2 separate regions of the Homo sapiens genome follow, and region 2 is linked to region 1. Evidence: promoter capture Hi-C in human tissues and cell types (Jung and others, 2019). All regions are on one chromosome and are shown on one strand. The core of a region is centred on a gene start or on the middle of the fragment in contact, and the rest is flanking DNA. Distances in the headings are between cores, read along the strand shown. Region 1 holds the start of SOX5 (SRY-box transcription factor 5). Region 2 overlaps LINC00477 (long intergenic non-protein coding RNA 477).

Region 1 (7,800 bases), core at 3,052-5,551:
TAGCATATCTTATATTCCTTAGCCTGTGTCAATCCCCTTTTTATATCTGCAATGGAAACAACATGAGCTCAAAAGCATACTTTTTCATGTTCATTCCATTTTCCATTATACCGATGCGGCAGTGTCAAAAAGACTCATTCAATGTAAAACTTTTATTGGGTTACTGTTGCACTTTGGTCATCTCTGAAAATATATTTTATTTGTGTATCTGTGCTTGTAGATCATACTTATTTACCATTTTATGTATTATTCAGTTCTTAGCACTATGTTTTGTTCATTTGCTTTTTTATTTTTGTTTTAACTTTTCTCACTACATCTGCCTCAGAAGGCTTGAATACTCAAAAATTGATTTGAAATTTGGTTTTATATACATATATATAATTAGAATTGTTATAACTTTTTAAAATTCTTTTATTAAAGCCATAGCACTTAACATATTGGTAAGCATTTAATAGATGTTAAGTGAATGCAAAAGTATGTCTCAACCCAGATGTATTTTGAAACCTTAACAAACATCACATTGCGGTATTAGTTGTGATGTAAAGAATATCTATAGTCAATTGAATATCTTAAGCTTTTCTGATAATTGAAAAAGAATTTGGGTTTAATAGATGCGCTAGTCATGAACACATATTTAATATTTAAACATTTTAACGTTTAATGCAAAATTTAAAAGATTCAATTAACAGTATTTTAATATTAAACATTGTATTGATTGGATCATTTTGATCATTTAATGAAATAACCCAAGACAAAATTTAACCAAAACATTTTGGAACAGTCTTTCCTTTTGCTGATATTCTAAAGTCTGACAGAAATGCTAATTTTCAATATAGGATTCAAATGAAAGAAAACTTTTATGGCTTAGAGAGGTACATTTTAAAATATTCAATTAAACCATCATATACAGTATTAGCTTAATGACAGCTTTTATAAATTTTATTTTTTATAACAATTACCTGAAAGCCTTTCAGGTCACTTAAAGTATGAGTACCATCTTGGGATTTTCATCTAACTATAAATTCTGGAGGATCAGTTTATTCTGCATTATGGTGTCATAAGTGAAATAGATAGAAGTGGCTTCAAGCAACAAATGGGCTACTAACCAGTTGAATGACTTTAAATTCTGTTTGCCCAAGTTAAACAGTGGGAAAATTAGGGAAATACATACCTACCCCTTTCTACTCTGTAAGATCCATGAGCTAATTTATGTGAACAAAATTCCTTATGATCTTAGAGTTCCATTAGTTCAAATTATCATTATTAGGATGATCATTATTTGGCAAATTTTCTGTCTAGTTCCTCGTCTATTTCAACTCCTTCAGCATAGATGATTGTGCAAGAAATAATTTGTCTTTTGAATGGCTACAGTAATGTTTGCAGAATATATTGAAGTCAAAAAACTAACTTTCAAACCATTTAACATTCTCTTCTATATTCTTTGTGTTTATTTGGCATATGTACAGATGTATACATATATTAAGTGCCAATAAAATCAAAATCAAATATAAGGAAGATTCTAATATGAGTATCTTTTCTTTATACTATAGTTGGCCTCAAACACTCATACTCTTTCTTACCTGCTCTGGTGACCTTCTAGATTAGAGTTTCAAAGAAACAACCAGAGGTAGTAGCTGTAGCAAGACAGCAGCTGGGACCATACGGATCTCAGCATCCTGCCTTATGGCCATTATCTTTGTTTCTATCTTTATGCTGCCACTATGTCTCCTTGTGCTCTCTCTGCGTCCTCTCCTCCCGCCTCCTCCTCTTCCTGACTCCACTCCCATGGCTCCCTGTAACTCACCCATCCTCCTTCTTCACTTTTTTTCTCTATTGATATAAGATAAGCAAGATTTTTCCTAGTTAGGAAAAAAATTTTAAATATTTTTAAAAGTGTATATAGCTATGCAGCTACTATACCCTAATTCTCATAACAACCATTAACAAATGAAGAAAAATATAATTTTTGTATACATTATCCATTAGAGTATATTAGATTGTAGGTCCCTTAAGGGCTGAAAAAATAGAGATTTAAAATAAATGCAACAATTTTTTCATTTTTCTGTGTGGGAGTAGGTTGTTGCTGTAACAAAAAATAATTTGAGACTAACAACAAGAAAGAATAGTGAGTAATATTCTTCCCCCCTTCCCCAACTGCTGAAAGTGAAAATCATGTCAGCATCAAGTCATTTTTGCCACATCCCTTGTTAACAGCTTTTTCAGGGTGGGTCATAGTTCTATGTTTTGTTAGTGTCTTAACTCCATAGTGACATGCTTAAATCTTATTCCACATTGATTTTGTAGTGTGTGTGTGTGTATATATATATTTTTAGAACATCTCCTGATGATAGAATTAAATATTAAGTTATTATCAACTTGTCTAAAAATTTATAAGCTTTGAATGAAAAATAAATTTACTAATATAAGTTCATAATTGATTTTTTTCTCTTTGGAATATGTGTATGATGTATCACTGTGAATGTCTAAAAAAGTAAACTTACTGTTTGCCTGTCTCCAGAAAAAAAAGTGGGACCTAATCAAACTGCCGTGGGGTCAACCCTTGTGGTTTTAAAGGCCCTTAATGTTGTCCAGCTGCAAAATAAAAGGAATTGGGAGGGGAAGTTGGAAGGAGTGGAGGGGGTTGGGGGGGAGGAATGTGTGGAAAAGAACAGGGAGTCTGGCTTTTATTTTTTTTTTAAGTGAGTTCAGTGCCAGCCTGGACATTGGCTGTACAGACTATTGAGCCATTGTCTGCTCCATTTCCAGAATAGCCCCCAGTTAATCACTTCGGCTTTGAAGGGAATTTCCTCGTGGAATTCTCCACAGAAAATCTAATCAACTGACCTGCCCTCTCAACAATGGAAGGCTTTTTTTTCCTCTCTTTCCCTTATTGGGGCGGGCTCTGTAATGTAGCCTTTTGTGCAGAATGAACCCTCCCAGTAGGAGTGGAGAGCGTGCGTGAGTGAGTGTGTGTGTGTGTGTGTGTGTGTGTGCATGCGTGTGTGAAGAATGCACACTATCTCCTGTTGGTAAGTGTGTGCTTACTCCCTGACCAGATGCTGCGGTGCACGGGGCAGCCACCATCTCTGCATGCATGTCTGTGTAAGTGTCTCTCTCTCTGTGTGTATGTGCCTCTGTCATTTCGTGTCAAAGGTACATTACCTGATTACCTTTCTCGGCTGCCAGATTTTTATCTAGATAATTGGAACTGCTATGGAGGCTGTGCCTTGCCAGCCAGCTTAGAATCTGTAAAGCCATAGTTTGTCCACCTTGTTATCTGTGGCTGCCTGGGCAGAGGAAATTAAAGAGATCCACAGCCAGGGGGGCGCTTCCTACTCCTGACCTCCCCAGCGATCCCAAACAGGACAGTTTGTTAGTACCGTCTTTTTGTTTTTATGTTTTGATTTCGTTTTGGGTTTTTGTTCGCTCGTGTATGTTATTTTGGCATGTGGATACCTATTCCCCTCCACATCGCACATCGTGTTTTATGGAGTTTAGAGCTGAGGAAACTTTGGTCGGGTTGCCAGGACGTTCGCACCACTTTGCGGAAAGCACGAGCTAACAGTGAGACCGACAGAGTGAGTGACAAGTTGTTTACAGGTTTCCTTGAAGGGGCCTCTGCTATATTTCAATCTGTCAAAGTTGCTTTTCTTCCCTCAGAACAATGCCTGATTGTTGTGTGTGTGTGAGTGTGTGTGTGTGTGTGTGCGTGTATTTCCGTGTGTGAACGGAGAGAGCCTAGAAAAGGGTGAGAAGGAATAACAATTCTTTGTGTAAAAATGCTATTACTAACATTAAATTTTTTGCTTAATTAGTTAATAAATGCAGTTTAATCGAGCTTCTGTTATTATATAGACTAGGTTTTTAATCAGCAGCAAATACGTTTTACAAAATCATACTGTTCTGCGTGTGTATGTGTGTGTGTGAGTTTTATGATTTAGAAGACAGAGTATGGGAGACGTGTTAAATGAGTTGACTTCTCACATTCAGTGATGTCTAGAAGAGAGAATTAAAAGGAAAGGACAGGCACCCTGAGGTTGTCTAGAGCCTTGCAGCCGGAGCGTGTGGCTCCGCGGAGGGGGGAGCAGCCAGACTCCGCTGCTGGAAGTGCACTACCCCTTTAAGAGACTGGTCAAGGAGTCCTAGGAGAGAGAGGAGGGGAAGGAGGGGGGGAGAAAGAGAGAGAGAGAGAGAGAGAGAGAGACAGAGAGAGAGAGGGAGAGAGAGAGAGAGAGAGAGGGAGGGAGGGAGGGGGGGAAGAGACAGAGAGAAAATCAATTGGTTTAGAAGGTTTGGACTCACTTGACAGGTTCAGTTGGAGACGATCATAGGTGGCTGCTGTGACAAAGGGAAATTGTGCTTTTCCAGCATGCTTACTGACCCTGATTTACCTCAGGAGTTTGAAAGGTGAGTACAGTTTTTTCCCCCTAATATATTGAAGTACAACTCTCCCATTTTACAGTAGTCTCTGAATCATTGGAAGATGCTCCCCCAAAACGTGTTTGTTAGAGAAGCCTTTAGCTAGGGCTTCTGCAATCTTGTTAGCTGATTTTTTGTTGTGATTGCCCGGACCAAACTGAACTGATTTGCAAAGTCTCCGAGATTTCTGCTAATGTTTTTAGGTTGCGTCCTATAACAGCAAATTAAATGAACCTTAAGCATCTCTCTCTCTCTCCCCAACTCGCTGCTTCTGTCTTTCTCATTCACTCTCTTACTTTCTTCCTTCATTGATTGTTTTCTCCCCACCTTTTAAAAACGCTTTTGTGCAGAATGTTACCATTTTCAGCATCTCTGTCTCATGTAATTTCTAGGGTGACAGAAGGTTTTAGTGGTGCTTTAAACGGAGGCTATAAGTTCCTATTTGATCCTTCCGTAAAACTTTGGAAGCTGCTCAGTAAAGCACATGACCTTTTGTTGATATAAGAGAGCGTTTTTTCCCCCCAAAGAAAATTTAACATCATCGCTATATTAGATTACTCCCTAAGTGTCAAAAATAGGGGCGAAAAGGGGATAAATGGAGCTGTTCCCTTTCTAAGTTTTAGTGGCCACTTTTTGTGTTAGCTGTCTTGACTGAATTTTAATTTACTGTATTTTCCCCTTTTGCTATGATGGGAATAGTGTATTTGTAATTAAGTTGTTCCTATTTAGAGAAATATCTGCAGCATCCTTTTATTTGATGTTGTTGCAAGTAAAGCAGGGCTTTGAAAGAATTTTAGCCCTCTTAATGTTCCTATAAGTACACATTGCAATTTTTAAATTTGAGTTCTTATCCCAGCATAAGTTCATTTTTTTGAACTATAAATAGAATTTTGTTTGCCATTAAAAAGAATTCAAACTTTGTATTCTGTATGGTGAATTAAAAAAAAAAAAGCTAAAAAAAGCCAGGATGCATGATACCCAGGCTTTTTTTCATTTTCATGAAAGCTACCTTCTGTATAAACATTTGTTGTATCTGACTATGCAATGCAAGCTAGGTGCTAGACCAGCTGGTTAAAAATATGCTAAGTCAAGCTGTTCATCGCTCAAACGACTGAATTTGATATGAAAAGACGAAAAAAGAAAGGACAAAGATTAAAACATTCTAGAAGTGAAGCAATGGAAGAGAAAAAGAGTATTGAGGATAAAGTAACGCTTGAATGTGGTCACATATTAGAAAAGCCAGTATCAAATCAGGGAAGAAAGTAAAATAGCCAACACATATACTTCGGTGCTGTCATCTTTCTTTGATTTCTTCTGTGTTTTTTTTTTTAATAATTAAATTGCATCTTTACTAGATAATTCCAGCGAATGTTTGAGCTTTCTTAACAGTTTTGAATTAAAATTTTCACTTCTATATATTAACTCTTTAATTAGTGAGCTTTTATTTGCAAATATAGCCTTATATCATAGGTAGATGTTGAAGTTATTCATAGTGGAACATACTGTACATTACCTAATGTAGCGATTTGCTAATTTAACACAGTTAAGTTTTCTAGAATGCACAGAGTAGCACTTAAATGATAATATTCTTTAATTCTAATTATACTTTTTGCAAATACAACTCTGAGGCTGATTTGTAAGCCTGTTAACAGATTGTACTTATAAAAAGGTAGTTACATATTAACAGGCTGTAGCCTATTTCTCTATATAGGCAAGCTTCCTGCTGTGAACTTTATTTGTATTTTTTTTTCAATTATCTCTTTTTAAACTAAACTTTTCCCTTTCCTATTCTGATGCTCAAATCTGTTAACATCTTTTTTCCTCCTGGTGGGAATTTCATTTTTTTTTTTCACCCAGAGGCATGCTTTTCTAACTAGCTAATTAAATAAGCAAGTGATAATCAATAGGGTTGTTAGTATGACTATCATATTTAGAAATATTAGTAGCTAAAATAATTCTGAAAAATGTCACACAATATAACGTTCCTTAATAATTTCCCCTGTGGTTGTAATTGGTAATACATACAAAGATCTCAGCAAATCATTACTATTTGTTTACATTGAATTTGTACGGGTGAGTGTCTCTATAGGCACCCATGCATGATACAGTGTATCATGTAGACACAATATTGAATATTTATATTCTTCAAAGGAGGTATTTATGATGTAACTAAACTATCACATATAATTAGATTTTTTGCCTTTTCAACTATTTGCAACTTTCATTGAATAAATAGGTCATTTCTATTGACTGTTAATTTTTATTCTATTGGGTCACTTGCTATAGATGAATTTCCCACTTAAACTTAGAAATCTAAAAGAAGACTTCTAAATTTCTTTGTGAAATAGAGAACTTTGATCTAGAGGACATAATAAATTGCTTAGGGTTCATGTACTGTAAAAGTTTTATGTGATCATTTTTACTAATTTCATTGGTAGAGTCTTGTCCATCTTTTATTCTTCCCAGCCTGTAGACTATTTGAACTTTAAGGAATATTCAGAACTTAAATATCAGGATCAAAATTTGGATTTAGATTTGTATATGTCTATATTATCATCCCTAGAAATGAACATGGTCAGTACTCTCAGACTAATAAGCAGTTGTTAAATAGTTAAGAAGTAGTAACAATTTCATTGTCTGTTAAAAATATGCAGGAGGTAGTGCAAATAGAACAGTGATTCTAAAAGGTAAAGAACTTGAAATATTTTTATTTTCAAGCATTCTTGTGATAAACTGATTATGATTACTGAAAAACACAACTCCAAGGTGGGAAGCAAATGGGTGTATATATTCTAAAAAATTATTTGTAAGGAAAGTCTTCTACATTTTACCGTTTAAAGGAAACATAGCTGGCAACATGGTCTAAATGTGAGTAATAGCATCATTAGAATGAACGCCCGAAGTCTCCCCACATTTTTAAAAGAAGTCAATAAATTTATATATTTAACTGAAAGTAGATAATGAAAAATTGTGACTTAAGGTTTTCCTTTGAGAATGTCACCTACTTTTTGATATTTCAAGGATGAAAAGAAAATATTTGCCTTAAATGTCAATATTAGTTTGTTCATGATAAGTAAAAATGTCCATTTTTGATAGTTTCTCAATATTCTATTTCTTTCCTTTTAATTTTATCTGTCCTCTTTGGTTGTAACATAATAGTTTTGTGTCTAAGCTTCCCGTTACAGTTTCTAATTGCTTTATGTTAGAAACTTAAATAGCAAGTGTAAGACGATTGCTTAAGAAGACAGTTCTGATAATGTCTAGAAAGGAGAAAAAAAGTTGGGATTGAAAGTAGTGGGATTATGCAAATTAGGTTGTTAGTATCACCTATTTGATTGCTTCTCCCAAATTGGTGCAGACAACAGACAGCAGATTTTCTAC
Region 2 (7,800 bases), core at 1,932-4,431, 620 kb before region 1:
TAGCCCCTAGAATGATAACCAGCAAACAGTAGGTGCTCCAAAATTTTTCTCCTTGCAACATCAGTTCCAGATATGGGTATGAATAAACTTAAGGGTAGTGTCTATTAAATGATCTTTATGCTGATCTTCAGGGAGCTTGCTGTAATTACTTAGCCAAGAGGACTATAAAACTCTTGCTCAAAAATCTTTATGAATAATTTCAGTTGTTCATATAAAAACCTCTTGTTCATTCAACCAAGTTCTGATCACTGAATGGCTAAATTTCTCTTAATTTGGTCTGTTTTTCTCACCTTCTGTGTCCTCAAGTGTGGCAGTTATGGGAGAACCTGCTTTAAAGAGTATAGTTGGCTGATCACCTCCAGCAGTAGAAACTGCTGATCTACCATGCATTCCTGCCGAGACTCTGGTCTCTCTGGATTGCTTTCAAACAATAACTGAGCATGGTGGGGCTACTAGAGCTAGCCCTTCTACTCCCAACACAGAACTTTTCTATGAACAATCTTTATTCAGGATACTCGAATCCCAACTGATATGTTTGGCTCTGTGTCCCCACCCAAATCTCATGTTGAATTGTAATTCCTAATATTGGGGGAGGGACCTGGTGAGAGGTGATTGGATCATGGGGACGGATTTCCCCTTTGCTGTTCTCGTGATAGTGAGAGAGTTCTCACGAGATCTGATGGTTTAAAAGTGTGTAGCACTTCTTCCTTCGCCCTCTCTTTCTCCTGCTCTGCTATAGTAAAATGTACTTGCTTCCCTTTTTCCTTCTGCCATGATTATAAGTTTCCTGAGGCCTCCCAGCCATGCTTTTTGTACAGCCTGCAGAACTGTGAGTCAATTAAACCTCTTCCCATTGTAAATTATCCAGTCTCAGTTAGTTCCTCGTAGCAGTGTGAGAACAGATAATATGCTGACCAAGCCAGACAAGACTTTCTCAGAGCCACAGTGCCATCTAAAGCCCTTCCCATCCAATCCTGCTTCCTTCCCTCTCTCCTTTCCTAGGTATCACATTGCATCACAGCCTGCCTAGACCTGTTCTCACATCCCTCGCAGGCATTTCTCCCAACAAATCTCTTGCATATCTAATTCCATCTTAGCATCTGCTTCTTGGAGGACCGAGACTGCCATAGCACCATATTCCAGGCCATCTGCGTTTCTCTGTGTGTCACTGCAGCAGCCTTTTTACAGTCCCACACCTTCAATTTTTCTCTCTACCAATTCTCCACATTGCAGCCAGAATGATCCTCAGAAATTACAAATCTCATCCCTTCCTTCCCTGCTTACACTTGCAGGGTAAAGAAACTTCTTTAAAGATGTCTATAGGACTTATCTTCTAGTCTTACTCTCCTGCCTGTCCCTTTGCCACTCCTCATGCCTCCGTAATCTAAATCAACCTGTTTTCAGTTCCACCAATGAGCAGACGATGTTCACATCTGGTACTTGGGTCCATGGTTTCGGAGTTGTGCTCCTTCCTTTCACCTTTTCTCTGCTTCCTTTGGCTCACACCTGTTCATCCTTCATCTCACAGCATGGATGGAATTTCTTCCAGAAAACTTCCTTGCTCTCACCAAGTCTGAGTTAGGTACTCTCTCTATGTGTTCTTATATCATTTTTCATTTCCCCTTTATATCAGTTACTATTCTTTAGCATATGGCAAAAACTGAACTTAAGCTAACTGGAGTCAAATAAAATTCATGAAATCTATTGGAAAGATACTAGAGTGGATCAAAATTAAGGGAAGAACCAAAAAAGGAACAATAGAAAGGCAGCTCAGATGACCTCTTGAGCTGGAATAATGGGCTCAAATGCCCTCAGAACTTTTCTCCCTCTCTTTCTGTGTGTTTGACTCATTCTTTTAGGTTGGTTGCCTCCATAAACTTGGATTCATGGCTGACAGCAGCTCCTGGGCTTACATCCTCACAGCTTGGGGCCTGAGGGAAGAAAAAGCTATTTCTCCTAGCTACAGATAAAAGCAAACAAACAAAAACCAGTAAAGACTCTGATTGGCCAGTTTGTTTTGTGAGTCCACTTCTTTCCCAGTCACTTGCCCTGGGGGGTGAGCAACTATACTATTGAACCATACTATTGAAGAGACAAGTTTAGATCTTATATTCAGTCCTCAACCAATCACTATCTTCAAGGAAGAACATGAAAGAAAAGGACCATACAACTAAAGCAGTGGGAAAACCCACTCCCCTAAAAAATAGAGATTTTCAGAAGATGAGGAAGATGCTATATTGAAAGAAAAATATGTATCTATCTATAAAGCTTAATAACTGCATTCAGTTACAGGTAACAGAAAACAGCAAAATATTGGCCCAAAAATAAGGGTTTTATTTGCCTCCCAAAATGAGAAGTCCAGAGGTAGGCAGTCAATGGGTCTTGGGAAACTTTCTAATCACTTCTAGAATCCAGGTCACTTCCTTATTCCTTCTGAGCCATCCTTAGCGTGCACTTGTCACTCCTAGCCGTGAAATTGCTACTCTAACTTCTAACATTATGCCCATGTTTCAGGCAAGAAGAAGGGGAAGGGCAAAAGCATGTGCTAAGTCTGCTTGCCTTTTGAAGAGCTTTAATAGAAGCCCAACTTAGAGACTTTTTCATTGGCAAGAATTGTGACCCTTGGCCACCTCCAGCTGTGGGAGAGACCTGGAAGCATAGGATGTTAGCTGGACACACTATTGACCCAAACAAAATCATGACTCTCTTAATGAAAAGAGGAAAATAGATATTAGGTAGGCAATTAGTAGTACCTCTCTTGTAAGCCAGACAATCCAGCTGAAAGGGTAAAAAAAAAAAAATTACTTCCAGGACTCCTTAAAAATATCATTCACAGATGGCTTTTGTATAAGATGACAACAACAGCAAAAAATAACTACAACTTCTGGGGCTTACAAAGTACCTGGGACCAACACAAAGGAAGTACTTGGGGTGGAGGGTGGGAACCCTAGTAATTGATGATGCAGGACTGTGTTCTGGCATGACATTTCTTAAGGGACTGGGACTTGATCTTACCCTCCTGTTACAAGCTGATATGTCTGCCTACCATGGTTTCATGGATGTTGCCACAGAACATATGAGATTCCTGAGTCAGACAAAGGACTATCGCCCATGGCAGAGCAAGCAGCATGAGCATCATTATGCTTGCATTGGTTCCTCAGGGGAGACATTGAGCTTGGAGAATCCACCATTTGAATGGAAAGCAGTAAGCAAGTCTGCTTTTTGCCTGGGAGGGAGACATTACTTACCCTCTAGGTTGCTGCCTGCAAACAATCTGAGTAATGGTCTGGGTAAAGAGCAATTGGGGCATTGCATTTTTGGCAGGCCCAACAAGGTGAGCAGGGATGCAAAAGCCTATAGGAGGACTATTTCTTAAAACAATTCATCCCTCAATCCTGTGCAGGATTAGCTTCCAGTGAATTTTTATGAGTATACCACTTTGTTGGTCACTCTGATGAACTTGACCTACAGAGGTTGGGAACAAATCTGTTCAATTTGTTTTGTATAGCACTTATTAAAGGGTTCTATTAACCAAACTTTAAGCAGTAGTATGAGGCCAACCAGAAGTCTCTATAGACCTCATCCAAGCCTCAGAGGGTCCCAGTTTCAACCATCTCTGAGTAAATCTTAGGGGGACCAGTATGTCTTATGTTAGACAGCCAGGATGTAGTATAAATTCAGTCAATTATCCATTACTACTCACAGAAGTTTAAATGATCTTTGGTATTGTTGTCCATAACTACAGGGAATTACCAATAAAACAATCCTCATTTGTAATGGAGAGACATTCATGGCTCACTTTCCCTTGCATAAAAACACAGGTCACAGCAGTCAGGGATGTGTTGTGAAATTTGATTTGGATCACCAATACCTTGTTTCATTTAAGCCACCTGAGTAGTGTTACCAACTAGTTGCAGCCTTGATGTTACACATGGCATAACCTAAGGATGCTAGGGCACCAGGAGAAGCAGATGAGTTTTTATCAGCCAGAATGAAACAAGGTTGTGTCAATCTGTGTGTTTGTACATATTCAAGAGGAGTCTATGTTTGAAGCTTCTCTCTTTCTTTTCTTTTGTTTTTAGAGGCAGTGTCTCACTCTGTTGTCCAGGCTGGAGTGCAGCGATATGGTCATAGCTCACTGCAGCCTCGAACTCCTGGGCTCAAGGGATCCTGCCACCTCAGCTAAGGCCTGCAGTAGCTAAGACTGTAAGCATGTGACTCTACATCCTCCTAATTAAAACTTTTTTTGTTGTTGTTTTGTAGAGACAGGGTCTCCCTATATTGCCCAGGCTGGTGTTGATCTCTTGGGCTCAAGCAATTCTCCCACCTTGTCTTCCCAAGCCACTGGGATTACAGGTATGAGCCATTACACCCGGCCTGAAGCTTGTCTTGATGGCAGAATGAACAGTTTGGGGCCAGCCAGGTCCTCATGAGCTTCTCTGATTTTATAGCATAGAGATGGGGATGATGAACCAGCAGCGTGTCATATTGCCGGCTTTAGCTTTTTGCCTCAAGCAGACCATGTGATTACTTGCAAGGCTGTGGTACTGGGACAAAGAGAGCATTAATTGTTCCTACCTCACACCTAGCACCTTTCCTGGTCTGAGGTGTTCTCTCTCTATGTCTGGGCCATTCCCTCTCCAAGTGTGGGAGCTGTTCTTCTTTCACAGCCACAAAACTGATGTGTCCACTCCAACAGTTAGAGCTTTCCTTTTCCCTAATCACCTCTGACCCAGACTTAGGTTTTTTGTCTGGAAGGAAGAGGTACACATGAGACAATGAATTTTCACAAAACTTACAGAGACCCATTATGCTCCCCATTTTGACCCATGTGGGCCATGTAGGGGAGCTCAGTGAACAGTGTACTAAACCAGGTGGTCATCGTTCTTATGATCTATGACCTTGTTAAACCCAAGAGATAATCCTAGCAGAATTAAAACTTGAATCCCCTAGGCCCACTTTTGATTGGGCTGCACCCAAGGAATGGACTGAACAGAATGGCCCAGAGTTGCTGTCAGGGAAAGAGAAACATGGTATGCTAAGGAATGGTAAGCATTACAGGCTATACACACGGTGGGATCACATGGCAGATGAATAGCCAAGCTTGGAGAATCTGATGCTTTTATAGCAAGCATCTACTCTTTGTTTTGGAGGGAGACATTATCTTATCCCTCCAAGTTTGATTACTGCAAACATAACCCTGAGAAACGGCCTGGGTAAAGAGTGGTCAGGTCATTGCATTCTTGGCCTACCTGGCATGACCTGCAGCAGCAGGCGAGACCCATAGAGGAGTGTCTCTCCTTATAGGAATCTAAGAAATGGTCCTCAGAAACTCTTTACTGTTTTCACTGATAGAAAGTTTGTCTTAATGTTACTCAGTGTCCTTGAGAAGGCCCCCAGTAAAATGTTCTGGTTTGGTCTTAGTTTCAGGAATAATTGGGCTTCTCCCTAACAATTGTAAATATTGAAATGGACACTTTTTCTTCCTTTTGGCTGCTAGAGAGGTTGAAGTGAAATGTGTGGCTCAAATCTAGCACAGTCCCTGGCACAACTAGGTCTTCTATAAATCATGTTAATAAGGATACAGAATTTTAAAGTGGGATGTACCTTTTGTGGCTCCATTTTATTCCCCTGATCTCTTATCCTTTTGTCTCATTTTCACAGTTATTTTAATTTAAAACTGTAACAAAGATCCATAACTCTTATTTCCAATAAGCTGGAATTCATCTCCGGGTCTTCTACCTTCTATTCCAGGCTCTGCATTATGTCTAGTTCTATTCTCTTTGAAGTTGGAGAACAGCTGGTTAATACCTTTATCTCAAACGATTTGCAGAGAAGTCATTCAATCACGCTTCATCTGTCTCCTCCTTCCCTGTTGGTTCTATTTCCAATGGTTTAGTCAGTTTTGTTGTTTTTCTGTGTAATCCAGATTCTCTTGTGTTTTGTGCATGTAGACCTAGACCTTGCAAAAATAGCCTTTATTAGATGTTACTTTGAGGATTTCTTCTCATTTTCTTTCAAGCCAATTCAACATTCTTAGATCTTTCAGCTATGTATATTATTGGATAACCAACTTAAAGCAATTTTTATTTCCACAGACAATACCATACTCATTTATGGTATTGTCTATGTCCCTATCATTTATGTCCCTTGCCCCTCATCTTGTTTTGGATAAATCTTGTCACTATTTCCTTCAGTTTTTTTTTTTTTTGGATTGGAAAATTTACAAGGCTTTCTATGTTATAATTTCCTGCCGTAGGAAGGCAGAAAAGTGCATTGTTAGCCCCTATGTCCAGGTAAACACTCAGCATTCAGAAGCTGCCAGCAGGATTCAAATATTTTTTATTATATAAGAGTTTGATCATTTACTTGCTTAGGTAAAAAATATTAAATATAGCTGAAAATTTACTGGACCTGTCACATGGTCAAAGAGATGGCTGAAATAGAAGTGGTTCATGACCAAATCTGGTCAGTGGAGTAGTGATCCAATTGATTACTCTGTCCTGGAGCAAAACTACCTGGATAGTAGCCATTTTGTGCGTGCAAAACAGTTTAGTCTGAATGGAAACACTTAATTTATTCTTTTTTAAAAAATCAACCCATGAATGAAGTTCTGAATTTGATGAGCATCATAAGAAAGTAGGGGTTAGAAGTCCCAGATACTTAGAGACTAAAAATGTATTTGCTCTTCAAATAATTTTCTGAGATTCAAATAAGAAGGACATTTGTTTAAGTGATATTTTTAAACACCCTCTTTGTTTTATGTGCTTTTCTTGAGCTTTCATTTGTTCACCATATTTCACATATCATATAATGCAATTGGTGATACCATGTTGCAAAAATTTGGTACCACCAAAATTATATTTGATACCAAAAATTATAAAGAAGTAACAGAAACAGGAGTTATCATGAGTTCACAGACCCAAATACCTAAACCCTACTGGGACCCAAGCTTAAAATATTATTTCCCTGCTTGACAATTAGTTCTGTTACCAGTTTTGAAGCAGCGAAGCATATGAATCATTCCTCTTTTCTTTATAAATAAAATCAAGGTATCTCATTGCATATAAACCTCCTCTATATATTTATGATAACATTTTATAGCAACTGAGAACACAGAATATATTGTGTAAGCTAAGTCTGAAACAAATGCACATATTGAAAAAAAGTACACGTGTAAAACTACTTCCCCCACATTATATACTCATTTTTTTAAATTAAAGGAAAGAAGTAGAACTGAAAACCAGTAAATTAAGAGACAAGATGTGGCGACTGTGTGTTGTTTCACTTGAATAGAACCAATTTTGTTTTTCCGTCTGGTTTTTCTCCCAGGAAGGAAAAAATTTAACAATCAGAGTAATAAACACTTTTCACTTATAATAAGAGCAATGTGACTGTGGTTTTGGTTGTGCAAAGTATCTGGGTTTTATACATTATTTCCACTTTTCAAAACTGTGGCTAAAGAGGAGTTTCTTCTAAATGCATACAAAAATCGGAAAGTTTTAAAAACTAGAATTCATTCTTTAGTATATATGCTGCCTCCCATTTCAGTCAACGTCGGCAACAAAACCAGTGTTGGCAGTTTTACCAACTGTTTTTCACCAGTTCAGTTGGTTTTGGCTCTCCGTTGTTAATATAGTACTACCGATCCTTAATTTGTAGAACCACAGGGGGATGTTTAAATAAAAGAACACTCGATTTCATAGTAGTTTTTAAATGAAAACATATGTATCTGTAATAGGGCTTTAAAAGTTTTGTTTTGTTTTGTTTTGTTTTTTTCAGTAAGAGCTTAATGTGTGG

The links. The method cuts DNA at HindIII sites, captures the fragments that hold promoters and counts their contacts. A contact is called where the count stands out against the background at its distance.
Region 2: a contact is called between a fragment that was not itself captured here and the fragment with the promoter of SOX5 in region 1, in 2 of the 25 tissues and cell types used here (dorsolateral prefrontal cortex and hippocampus).

What each region holds. Positions count from the first base shown.
Region 1 is chr12:23,946,171-23,953,970 of GRCh38, reverse strand. SOX5 (SRY-box transcription factor 5) reads left to right here and starts at 4,301. Exons shown (of 15, transcript NM_006940.6): 1 at 4,301-4,407. The coding sequence starts at 4,370. The HindIII fragment of the contact is 5,378 bases long and covers 1,486-6,863 here.
Region 2 is chr12:24,567,940-24,575,739 of GRCh38, reverse strand. It overlaps LINC00477 (long intergenic non-protein coding RNA 477), which reads left to right. Exons shown (of 4, transcript NR_029451.2): 2 at 4,083-4,206. Among named protein-coding and RNA genes, the nearest start is that of LINC00477, 12 kb to the left of the region's middle. The HindIII fragment of the contact is 5,695 bases long and covers 334-6,028 here.